Linked DNA regions of Homo sapiens: region 1 is linked to region 2. Evidence: promoter capture Hi-C in human tissues and cell types (Jung and others, 2019). All regions are on one chromosome and are shown on one strand. Each heading gives the region's core, a stretch centred on a gene start or on the middle of the fragment in contact. The rest is flanking DNA. Distances are from core to core; before and after follow the strand shown. Region 1 has its middle 5.3 kb from the start of SDHAF1. Region 2 holds the start of HSPB6 (heat shock protein family B (small) member 6).

Region 1 (4,488 bases), core at 92-2,591, 230 kb after region 2:
TATGTCTTTAAAAGATAAGGGTGTTTAGGCCAGGCACGGTGGCTCACTCCAGTGATCCCAACCCTTTGGGAGGCCGAGGCGGGCAAATCACTTGAGGTCAGGAGTTCGAGGACAGCCTGGGCCAACATGGTGAAACCCTGTCTCTATTAAAAACACAAAAATTAGCCGGAAGTGGTGGTGCATGCCTGTAGTACCAGCTATTCAGGAGGCTGAGGCAGGAGAATTGCTTGAGCCCAGGAGGTGGAGGTTGCAGTGAGCCGAGATCGTGCCACTGCACTCCAGCCTGGGCAACAGAGCAAGAGTCTGTCTAAAAAAAATAAGAAAAAAGAAAAAAGACAAAAAAAAAGATAAGGGTGTTTAGCAGAGTCAGCTAGATGGTGGGGATGGAGTATAGGAAGGACAGGCATGACTGAGTAGAGACAAGATAAAGGGTTATGGCCTGGTGCGGTGGCCCACGCCTGTAATCCCAGCACTTTGGGAGGCCAAGGCAGGTGGATCACGAGGTCAGGCATTCAAGACCAGACTGGCCAAGATGGTGAAACCCCGTCTCTACTAAAAATACAAAAATTAGCTGGCCATGGTGGTGCGTGCCTGTAACCCCAGCTACTTGGGAGGCTGAGGCAGAGAACTGCTTGAACCTAGGAGGCGGAGGTTGCAGTGAGCCAAGATTGCGCCACTGCACTCCAGCCTAGGTGACAGAGTGAGACTCTGTCTCAAAAAAAAAAAAAAAAAAAAGGTAACAGGTTATTAGCAGGGTCGGGAAATGAATGATGGTAATCTAGACTCTTGATGGTTACAAAGCAGAGATAAGTGATCATTTAAGCAATAGAGAGAAGGTGGAATTGATACTTTGGTAAGTCATTCCTTTCCTCACCTAGAATGTTGAACACATATTACCAATGTGCTAGTGACTGGCTATGATGTTTTTTGTTTGGTTGGTTTTTGTTTTGTTTTGTTTTTGGAGACAGAATGTTACTCTGTCACCCAGGCTGGAGCATAGTCATGTGATCACAGCTCACTGCAGCCCCAAATTCCTGGGCTCAAGTGATCCCCCCGCTTCAGCTTCTGGAGTAGCTGTGACTACAGGCATGCCCCACCATGCCATCCTAATTTTTGTAGAGATGGGGTCTCAGTATGTTGCTCAGGCTGGTCTCAAACTTCTGGGCTCAAGGGATCCTCCTGCCTTAGCCTCCCAAAGTGCTGGGATTACAGATGTGAGCCAACATGCCCGGCCAATTTAGTGTTTTATTTAGTGCTTTTCATGTGCTCAGCACTGTTCTGAGGAATTTTCATGAACCATCTCATCTAATCCTTATTGCAACTGTATCAGTCAGCTAATGCTGCATAACAAACAACCTCAAAATCTTAGTGACTTAACCCCAGGCAGCTTCCTAACTCATGTGTCTGTGGGTTGGTTGGCATTGGCCGATCTTAGCAGGGGTCATGAAGCACTTACCATATGCCTAGCATAGGTACTCTTTTTTTTTTTTTTGAGATGGAGTCTCAGTCTGTCGCCCAGGCAGTGCAATGGCACCATCTTGGCTCACTGCAACCTCTGCCTCCCAGGTTCAAGCGATTCTTCTGCCTCAGCCTCCTGAGCAGCTGGGACTACAGGCCTGCACCACCACACCTGGCTAATTTTTGAGTTTTTAGTAGAGATGGGGTTTCTTCATGTTGGCCAAGATGGTCTCGAACTCCTGGCCTCAAGTGACCCGCCCACCTCAACCTCCCAAAGTGCTGGGATTACAGGCATGAGCCACCGCACCCAGCCTGAAGTAGGTACTCTTGTCCTTCCATGTTACAAACACAGAAACTGAAGTTCAGAAAGGCTAAGTCCCTTGTCCAAGTCTCACCCTCATTTGTGGCGCAATGAGGAGGGACATCCAGGTTTCAGGGAGGCATGGGAGCAGGTTCAGCCTCCTCAGCCCCAGTCCTGACCCCTTACCTCCCCTGCAGGTGGATGGTGAGCACTACTGGCTGCCCTGGGCACTGCCAGGGGGCTGGGGTTGGCCGCCTTGGAGGGCCACCATGCCATGGTGCACATGGCCTGTGGGCTGTATCTCATGTACACCTGGGGAAGCTCATGGTGCCTTCTGAATTCTAAGGCGAGCTGGCGGGGCTCCATGGGTCCTTTGGAGGCAATGTTGGCCTACTTGACCTGCCTCTGGATACCGTGTCCTGGTCCAAGGGCCTGATCACTATCCACTGCCCACTGACCCAGCCCAACCATGGCTTTCATGTCAGCTGCCCACATGACTTGCCCAGATCTTCAAAGCTCCCAAACTGTGTGGCCTCCTGCATGTGCCGGATGGCCCCTTTAACCACTGTGTGGCCCACATCAACAAGCCCTTCCTTAGTATATGCCTGCAGGATGCGTGTCATCCCAGTGGCCAGCACCGTGGTCTCTGTGACACTCTCACAGGCCATACTGCAGCAGCCAGGAGCCTGGGAACCCTGTGATGCCCTGGAGGGGCCCCAAGCATTGCCATAAGTGCTCTGGCTTGGTCTGGGGTGCAGGCAGGGCAGACTATGGGTTGGCTGGAAGAGCCCCTTCCCCTGGTGGGAGTCCAGGAAGAATTCCTAGCATAGGTGGAATTGGTGGAGGAGAATGTGTGGGAAGAGGATCCAAGGGAAAGGGAACTGCAGCTACAAAGGTGTGGAGGTGGGGAAATACCAATGGGAAGCCAGGCTGACTAGGGGCAGAGGCGATGAGATTGGAAAGAGGAATTTGAGGCTGGGCGCGATGGTTCCTGCCTGTAATCCCAGCACTTTGGGAGGCTGAGGTGGGTGGATCACCTGAGGTCAGGAGTTCAAAACCAGCCTGGCCAACATAGTAAAACAGTGTCTCTACTAAAAATACAAAAATTAGCCGGGTGTGGTGGCACACACCTGTAGTCCCAGCTACTTGAGAGGCTGAGGGTGGAGAATTGCTTGAACCTGGAGGTGGAGGTTGCAGTGAATGGAGATCACACCACTGCACTCGAGCCTGGGAGACAGAGGGAGACTCCATCTCAAAAAAAAAAAGAAGAAGAAGAAAGGAAGAAGGAAGAAGAAGGAAGAAGGGAAAAGAAGGAAGAAGAAGGAAGAAGGAAAAAGAAGGAAGAAGAAGAAGACGGAGGAGGAGAAGGACTAGGAGAAGGAGGAGGAAGGAGGAAGGAGGAAGAAGGAGGAAGAAGGAGGAAGAAGGAGGAAGAAGGAGGAAGAAGGAGGAAGAAGAAGGAAGAAGAAGAAAAGAAATTTGAGCCCTAGGCATTTATCTTTGCCAACTGCCTGCAGCACAGACCTGCCCACCCCAAGGCCATTACAGCATCTGTGCACAGACCTATGATTTGGGGTGTGTCCTGCCTGCCAACCCCGCTCACTGTTCCTCCCGATGCTATGAGAGCTATGAACGTGGCCTCACCATTGATGGCACAGACTGTGTGTCCCAGGACCACTGTGGCTGCTTCCACAATGAATGCTACCTTCTGGTGAGAGGGATCTCCAGGCCTGGAAGGTGAGGACAAGTCTCCCAAACCTCATCATAAGATGTTCCCTGAATCACCAGTATATCAGTCAGCATTTTCAGTTGTAAATGACAGAAAATGATGCCAGCTGTCTTAAATACAGACGAGAATTTGTCTGCTTTTACTTATCTGTAAAGATGAGGCCTTCAGGTCTGGCTGGTTCAAGGACTCAAATGATGTTGCTAAGAACTTAGTTTCTTTCCATCTTTCATCCTCGCCTTTTCCTTTTTCTGCGTTAGCTTCTATAGTAATTAGGCTCCAGGTCCATATGGTAGAACAAAAGCTCAAAATTACAGTGGCTTAAGCTTTTTGTTTGTTTTTAGAGAGAGGGTCTCACTCTGTCACCCAGGCTGGAATGCAGTGGCGTGATCATAGCTCACTACAGCCTTGACCTCCTGGACTCAAGCAATCCCGACACCTCAGCCTCCCAAGTAGCTAGGACTACAGTTATGTGCCACCATGCCTGGCCAATTTTTTTTTTTTTTTTTTTTTTTTTTTTTTTTGTAGAGACAAGGTCTTGTTGTGTTGTCCCGGCTGGTCCTGAACTCCTGGGTGCAAGCAATCCTCCCAACCTCAGCCTCCCAATGTGCTAGGATTACAGGCGTGAGCAATACGCTCAGCCTACAGTGGCTTAAACTTGATAGAAGCTTAATTATCTCTCACAGGCAGTCCAAGTATAACCAGTTTGCTTCCTCCAACACAGGCTCCATCTGTCACGTGGCTCTGCCTCCCCTGTGGTATTGCCCTCATCTCTTCCTCACCGCAGCTACATTCCTGCAAGTTGGAAGGAGAAAAGAGGGCACAAAGAGGCCAGGCCTCCTCCCTTTAAGGACAAAACCCAGAAATTGCACACATCACATCCATTCACTTCCCAGTGGCCAAACTTTATGGAAGGGCCCCATCTGGCTGCAAAGGGGGCTGGAAGATGTATCTTTAGCTAAGTGGCCATGTGTGCAGCTAAAGATTCTAATTTGGCCAAGTG
Region 2 (4,976 bases), core at 1,719-4,218:
GCCGCCACCCACACCCCCGGGGCCACCCGGAGATGCCTGCAGATCCCGCATCCCATCTCCACTGCAGCCTGAGATGCAGGGCACCCCTGACGATGAGGTGAGTATGCCAGGCTGGCCCAGGGTTATGGGGCACATGCGGTAGGGCTCAGGAATGGCCACTCAACCTGGCCTGTCTGTCCATGCAGCCCTCTGAGCCCGAGCCCTCACCCTCCACACTCATCTATCGCAACATGCAGCGCTGGAAACGCATCCGCCAGAGGTGAGCGTCCCCCAGCCTGCTTGCCCCTCGTAGGGCCCTTTGCAACTGCTGAGTCTCCCCTCTGCCTCCCCAGGTGGAAGGAGGCCTCTCATCGGAACCAGCTTCGTTACTCAGAAAGCATGAAGATCCTACGAGAGATGTACGAACGACAGTGATGTTCCCAGGTCCCCCCACACCAGTAAACATCCCCCAGCTCCACACTGGTGTCTGCTCCGGTCCCTCCTTCCTGGCCCAGGCACAAAGCAGTTGGCAGAGCTCTAGCACATTTATTGGGAGAGTAAGCCTGGGAAAGACTAAGGGAGTGGTGGCAGGGAGAAAGGCTGTGGGGAATCAGAGCGGGTGCTCAGTTGGGTCTTGAAGGAGAAGAGGAGGAGGGTGGGAGGTGGGTTGCCGAGGATATCTGGTTGAAGACTTGGGGGTCAAGACAAAGGGACTTAGGGGGATGGGGTCTGGTTAGAGTTGGGGAGGGGGCCTAGGACATCCGTGCAGAGTCTGGGGAGGTTGGGGTGGGAGAGTCTGTACAGTTTGGTGTTGGGTGTTCTAGTTGGCCTGGTGTCCAAGAGTTGGGGCAGTCGAAAAAGGGTTCCAGAGTCTGGTGTGGCTGGCTGGGGTTTCACGGCAGAAAATGGGCTGGAGGGGGCAGTTGTAGACTGTCTGGTTGCAGGGGAAGGATCGGGTCTTGGGAACCAGGCCTGGATGGTCTGGAGTGGGAGGTCTGTGCAGTCCAGGACGTTTGGGGGGTGGGGGGATTGTGCCTGACTGGCCTGGGGTTGGGGGAGGGCTGTCTACACCATAATTTGGTGTCAAAATAGGGAAGGGATGGAAATGTAGTACCCGGATGTCTTTGTAGAGGACTCAGAAGGAAGTAGAGGAGGGGTCTTAAGTGGGGCTATATGCCAAGAAAGTGGGTCGGTGGGGCTGAGACTGTCGGCTGAGGGTTAGGGTAGTGCTGGTAGGGTCTGGAAGCCGGGGAGTTGTCGGTGTGGGGTCGGAAAGCTGGAGGGGGTGTGAGAGCGAGGGTGTCAGTGGAAGGGTCTATGTTATCAAGGCAGTGTCCAGGATGGAGGTCAGGGCAGAATCCAGGAGTGGGTGAGAGGACAGTCCTTGGCGCACTCGGGACATCTGGCTGGGCGGAGTCAGATCGGCTTTAATAGAGGGAGCCTGAGGAGGCTCCCGGGGTGCGGGCGCGGCCCAGCCCCCTCCTACTTGGCTGCGGCTGGCGGTGGGGCCTGGGCCGACGCTGGTGCGGCCTGGATGGACAGGACGCCCTCGGGGGACAGCGCGGACGTCACGGCAGCCGGATCCACGCCAGGCGGCAGGCGGTAGCGACGGTGGAACTCGCGCGCGACGAATCCGTGCTCATCCTGGAGGGGAGGGAGGCTTGAGCGGCCCCGCCCCTCCGGCCCGGCGGCGAGCGTACCCGCTCCAGCCCCGCCCCACGCCGCGGCTCACCGGGCGCTCCTCGTGGCGCGCGTGCACCTCCACGTGTTCGCCCACCACCTTGACAGCAATTTCCTCCGGCGAGAAGTGCTTCACGTCTAGCAGCACCGAAAAGTGGCCGGGGTCCGTCGGCACCTGAGCGCAGCGGGCGCGGGCGGGACTGTCATTGGGCTGGGCCAGGCTCCAGGACCCACCCAGGGAGACCCCACCCCCGTCGGTTCCGTGCCGCGGCTCACTCTGGCCTCCGGAGTTGAGCAGTCAGCTCTCCTACTGGGAGTCACCCAGGACCTCTTCACCCTGAACAACAGGGATACGCCCTCCCCCTGTAATATCTGGGATTGCCCTCTCCCCCGCAGTGATGAGGCTCCCTTCCCCTGCAAGGTCAGGAACCTCTGCCCTCCCCCGGTGTCAGCGAATCCGAAGTCATCGTGCCCCCCAGGGCACTGATTCCCCAGCTCCCTCCTCAGAGCCCCGGGTCCCTTCTCCGCCAGCCCCGCCAAACTCGCCAAGATGCCCCTTTCCCCGTCTCCAGGGTCCTCTGCCTACTCTCCCACTCGAGTCACGGGACCTCGGCAGCTACTGGTAGCCTTCCCCCACTTCAGAGTGGCCGGGAACCCTTCCTCAAGTCGCAGGGCCCTCTCCCCTCCTCTTCTGGAGATATCGGGCCACCGCACACAGTCTCTCAACTCTTCCCCGAGACTAAGAACATTCCTTCCCCTCAGGAGTCACTGCCCGCCTCCTTTTCCCCAGATTTCCCGGATCACCAGCCTCCTTCAGAGTAAGCAAGACTCCCCTTAGAGTGACCCAGGCCTTCCATTCTCTGGAGAGCTGAGAGCCCCCCACCCCGCCCCCCACCTAAGAGCGACGGGGACCTCCCACCCGCTGCAGTGTGCGGGCCTCAGATTCCCATTGACTCCGGAAGCCCTTCGGAGCTGCGGACTCTCCACCCCGCCCAAGGCCAACGAACATTCTCTCACATGTTCCCACCCCAGGCTGCCCCAGACCCCTGGCAATGGAAGTGGTCGAGTTCACCCCTCCCCAGGCCTGGCACCTGGGCGACGGGCAGCGCCACGCTGGGTGCGCGCAGGTAGTAGGGGGCGAGCGTGGTGGGGCAGAGCGCAGCCAGCTCGGCCTCCAGCAGCCCCTCGCCGAAGCGCTGGTCAAAGAGGCGTCCGGGCGCCGAAAGTCCGGGCAACGGGGCCGAGGCGCGGCGCAGCCAAGACGGCTGCACAGGCACAGGGATCTCCATCCTGCTCCTCCGCGTTGCAGTGCCCCTGCGTGCGCAGCCGCTCATTTATAGTGCGCCCTGTGCCGGCCCCTCGGAGGGCTGCCCAGGGACACTGGGACCGTGGCCAGACCCGGCCATTAGGAGAGCCTTATTTAGAAACCCAAACAATGACTTGGCCATTTATTAAGCGCCTGCTGGATGCCTGGCAAATGCTGTCAAGAAGGTGACATGAAGATTCCCCAATTTCCAGAAGAGGAAACTAAGGCTGAGGAGGGGGAGCCTTGCGGGTGTGGGGAGCACAGCGTGGTGATTGGGGCCCAGGACCCAAGAGGCCCACGGAAGAGTTTCCAGTCCCTTTAATCCACTGCCTCCCCCCTGGCAGCTCTGAGGATGACGCAGATGGAGGTCTTTAGGAGCAGATTCCTGGAGAATGCGGTAGCCCCGCCAGGATGTCAGGAGGACATAGAACAGGCCCTCCCTACCCTTATCCTCAGCCAGACCTTGGGCCCAGTCCCCCGGCAGGCCGGGCCTAATTCTGTGCCTCTGACTCAGCCTCTGGTGCGCAGAGGCCAGGGGGCGCGAGCATGAACAGTTCAGGCTGGCCCCCCGGGGGCCGCGCGCTGGGGCTGGAAATAGCTCATTTTGATCCCGCTACCTCGGCCAGGAGCCCAGACCTGGCAACTGATGCAACCAGCTGCTCCTGCAGCAAGAAAGAAGTTAGATGACCGTTGGGACGGACTGATTGGCCCAACTGATGGAGGAATAGCGGTTAGAGAGAGGGCAGAGCGCGCCCCCCCCCCAACCCGCCCCACTGCCCCTGCAACAGAAAGAATGGTAGTTAGACCGGGGTCGGGACAGGACTTCTGCAGCAAGAAGGCGCTTAAAAAGCGGGACTTTTAAGCGAGGGTACTTTAGATCACCTCCTAACCGCAAGCCCAGCCTCAGATCCTTCCCATTGGTGCACGGTCTTGCCAATTACTGCTACACTCGGCAGGTTCTCCAATCAAACACGCCCTGTCGGGCAGGCAGTCGTCCCAGCCAATCCTGAAACACCTCCCTCCGGGTACTTCTGTTTCCTCTCTTTCATTGGTCGCCTTGGAGGCCGCTCGCCTCCGGCGCGGGCACAGAGAGGGGCGGGGCTGATAGGGCGTTGCTAAGCGACGGAGATGCGCGCGGGGCCTGTTGGGTGAAGGAGCAGAGCGGCCGGAAGCGCGGAGGGAGCCGCGGGATGGACCGCAGGTGAGGCCGATCGCTCTTCCAGGGACTACAGGAGGCTGGGGAGGACCAACGGCGAGAGCAGCACAGCCTAGGACGGGCTGGATACGGTCTGGAGTCGCTAGGGCTCCACCGCACTGGAACTACAATTCCCAACATGCTCCACAGCCGTTGGCCTCTCCAGCCGTAGCCGTTAGCATCCCGGGGGTCCCCTAAGAGTCTTATGTTCCTCTCTGAGTGGGCCCCAAGGAATTATTGCCTCTAAAGGTGTCCAAGAAAGGCTTGAGATCTGAATTTCTTCATTTTGAAATGGCCCCCAGACACGCCTGGGCGTTGTCTTTGAACTTTCTCGCGGAGGCGGAGCCCAGTGGATCCTGGGGCTTGTAGTCCATCTACCCTTTGCCTTCGTGTCCCCCAGGAATGTATGGGAAATGCTCGGTGATATAATCCAGCCGCGGTTCTTTCTTTCTTTCTTTTTTTTTAAGACAGAGTCTCTCGCTCTGTTGGCCCAGACTGGAGTGCAGTGGCACAATCTTGGCTACTGCAACCTCTGCCCCCGGGTTAAAGCAATTCTCATGCCTCAGCCTCCCAGGTAGCTGGGACTACAGGCACCTGCCACCGCGCCTGGCTAATTTTTTATATTTTTAGTAGAGACGGGGTTTCGCCATGTTAGTAAGGCTGGTCTCGAACACCTGACCTCAAGTGATCCACCCGCCTCGGTGTAATCCCAAAGTGCTGGGATTACAGGCGTGAGCCACCACGCCCGGCGAGCCGCGATTCTTAACCTGAACTCCACTTCGCAATCACCTGGGACGCTGCGGAAAAGACACGGAG

The links. Contacts are between HindIII fragments. The study calls those that stand out against the background at their distance.
Region 1: a contact is called between a fragment that was not itself captured here and the fragment with the promoter of HSPB6 in region 2, in 2 of the 25 tissues and cell types used here (dorsolateral prefrontal cortex and spleen).

What each region holds. Positions count from the first base shown.
Region 1 is chr19:35,987,672-35,992,159 of GRCh38, forward strand. No RefSeq gene overlaps it. Among named protein-coding and RNA genes, the nearest start is that of SDHAF1, 5.3 kb to the right of the region's middle. The HindIII fragment of the contact is 5,281 bases long and covers 1-3,982 here.
Region 2 is chr19:35,754,061-35,759,036 of GRCh38, forward strand. HSPB6 (heat shock protein family B (small) member 6) reads right to left here and starts at 2,969. Exons shown (of 3, transcript NM_144617.3): 1 at 2,751-2,969; 2 at 1,712-1,834; 3 at 506-1,623. The coding sequence starts at 2,948. The coding sequence ends at 1,462. It overlaps PROSER3 (proline and serine rich 3), which reads left to right and starts at 4,116. Exons shown (of 11, transcript NM_001367856.1): 1 at 4,116-4,166. The coding sequence starts at 4,156. It overlaps LIN37 (lin-37 DREAM MuvB core complex component), which reads left to right. Exons shown (of 9, transcript NM_019104.3): 7 at 1-97; 8 at 186-259; 9 at 333-459. The coding sequence ends at 414. RefSeq lists enhancers at 3,221-3,792, 4,121-4,360, 4,401-4,460. The HindIII fragment of the contact is 17,144 bases long and covers 1-4,976 here.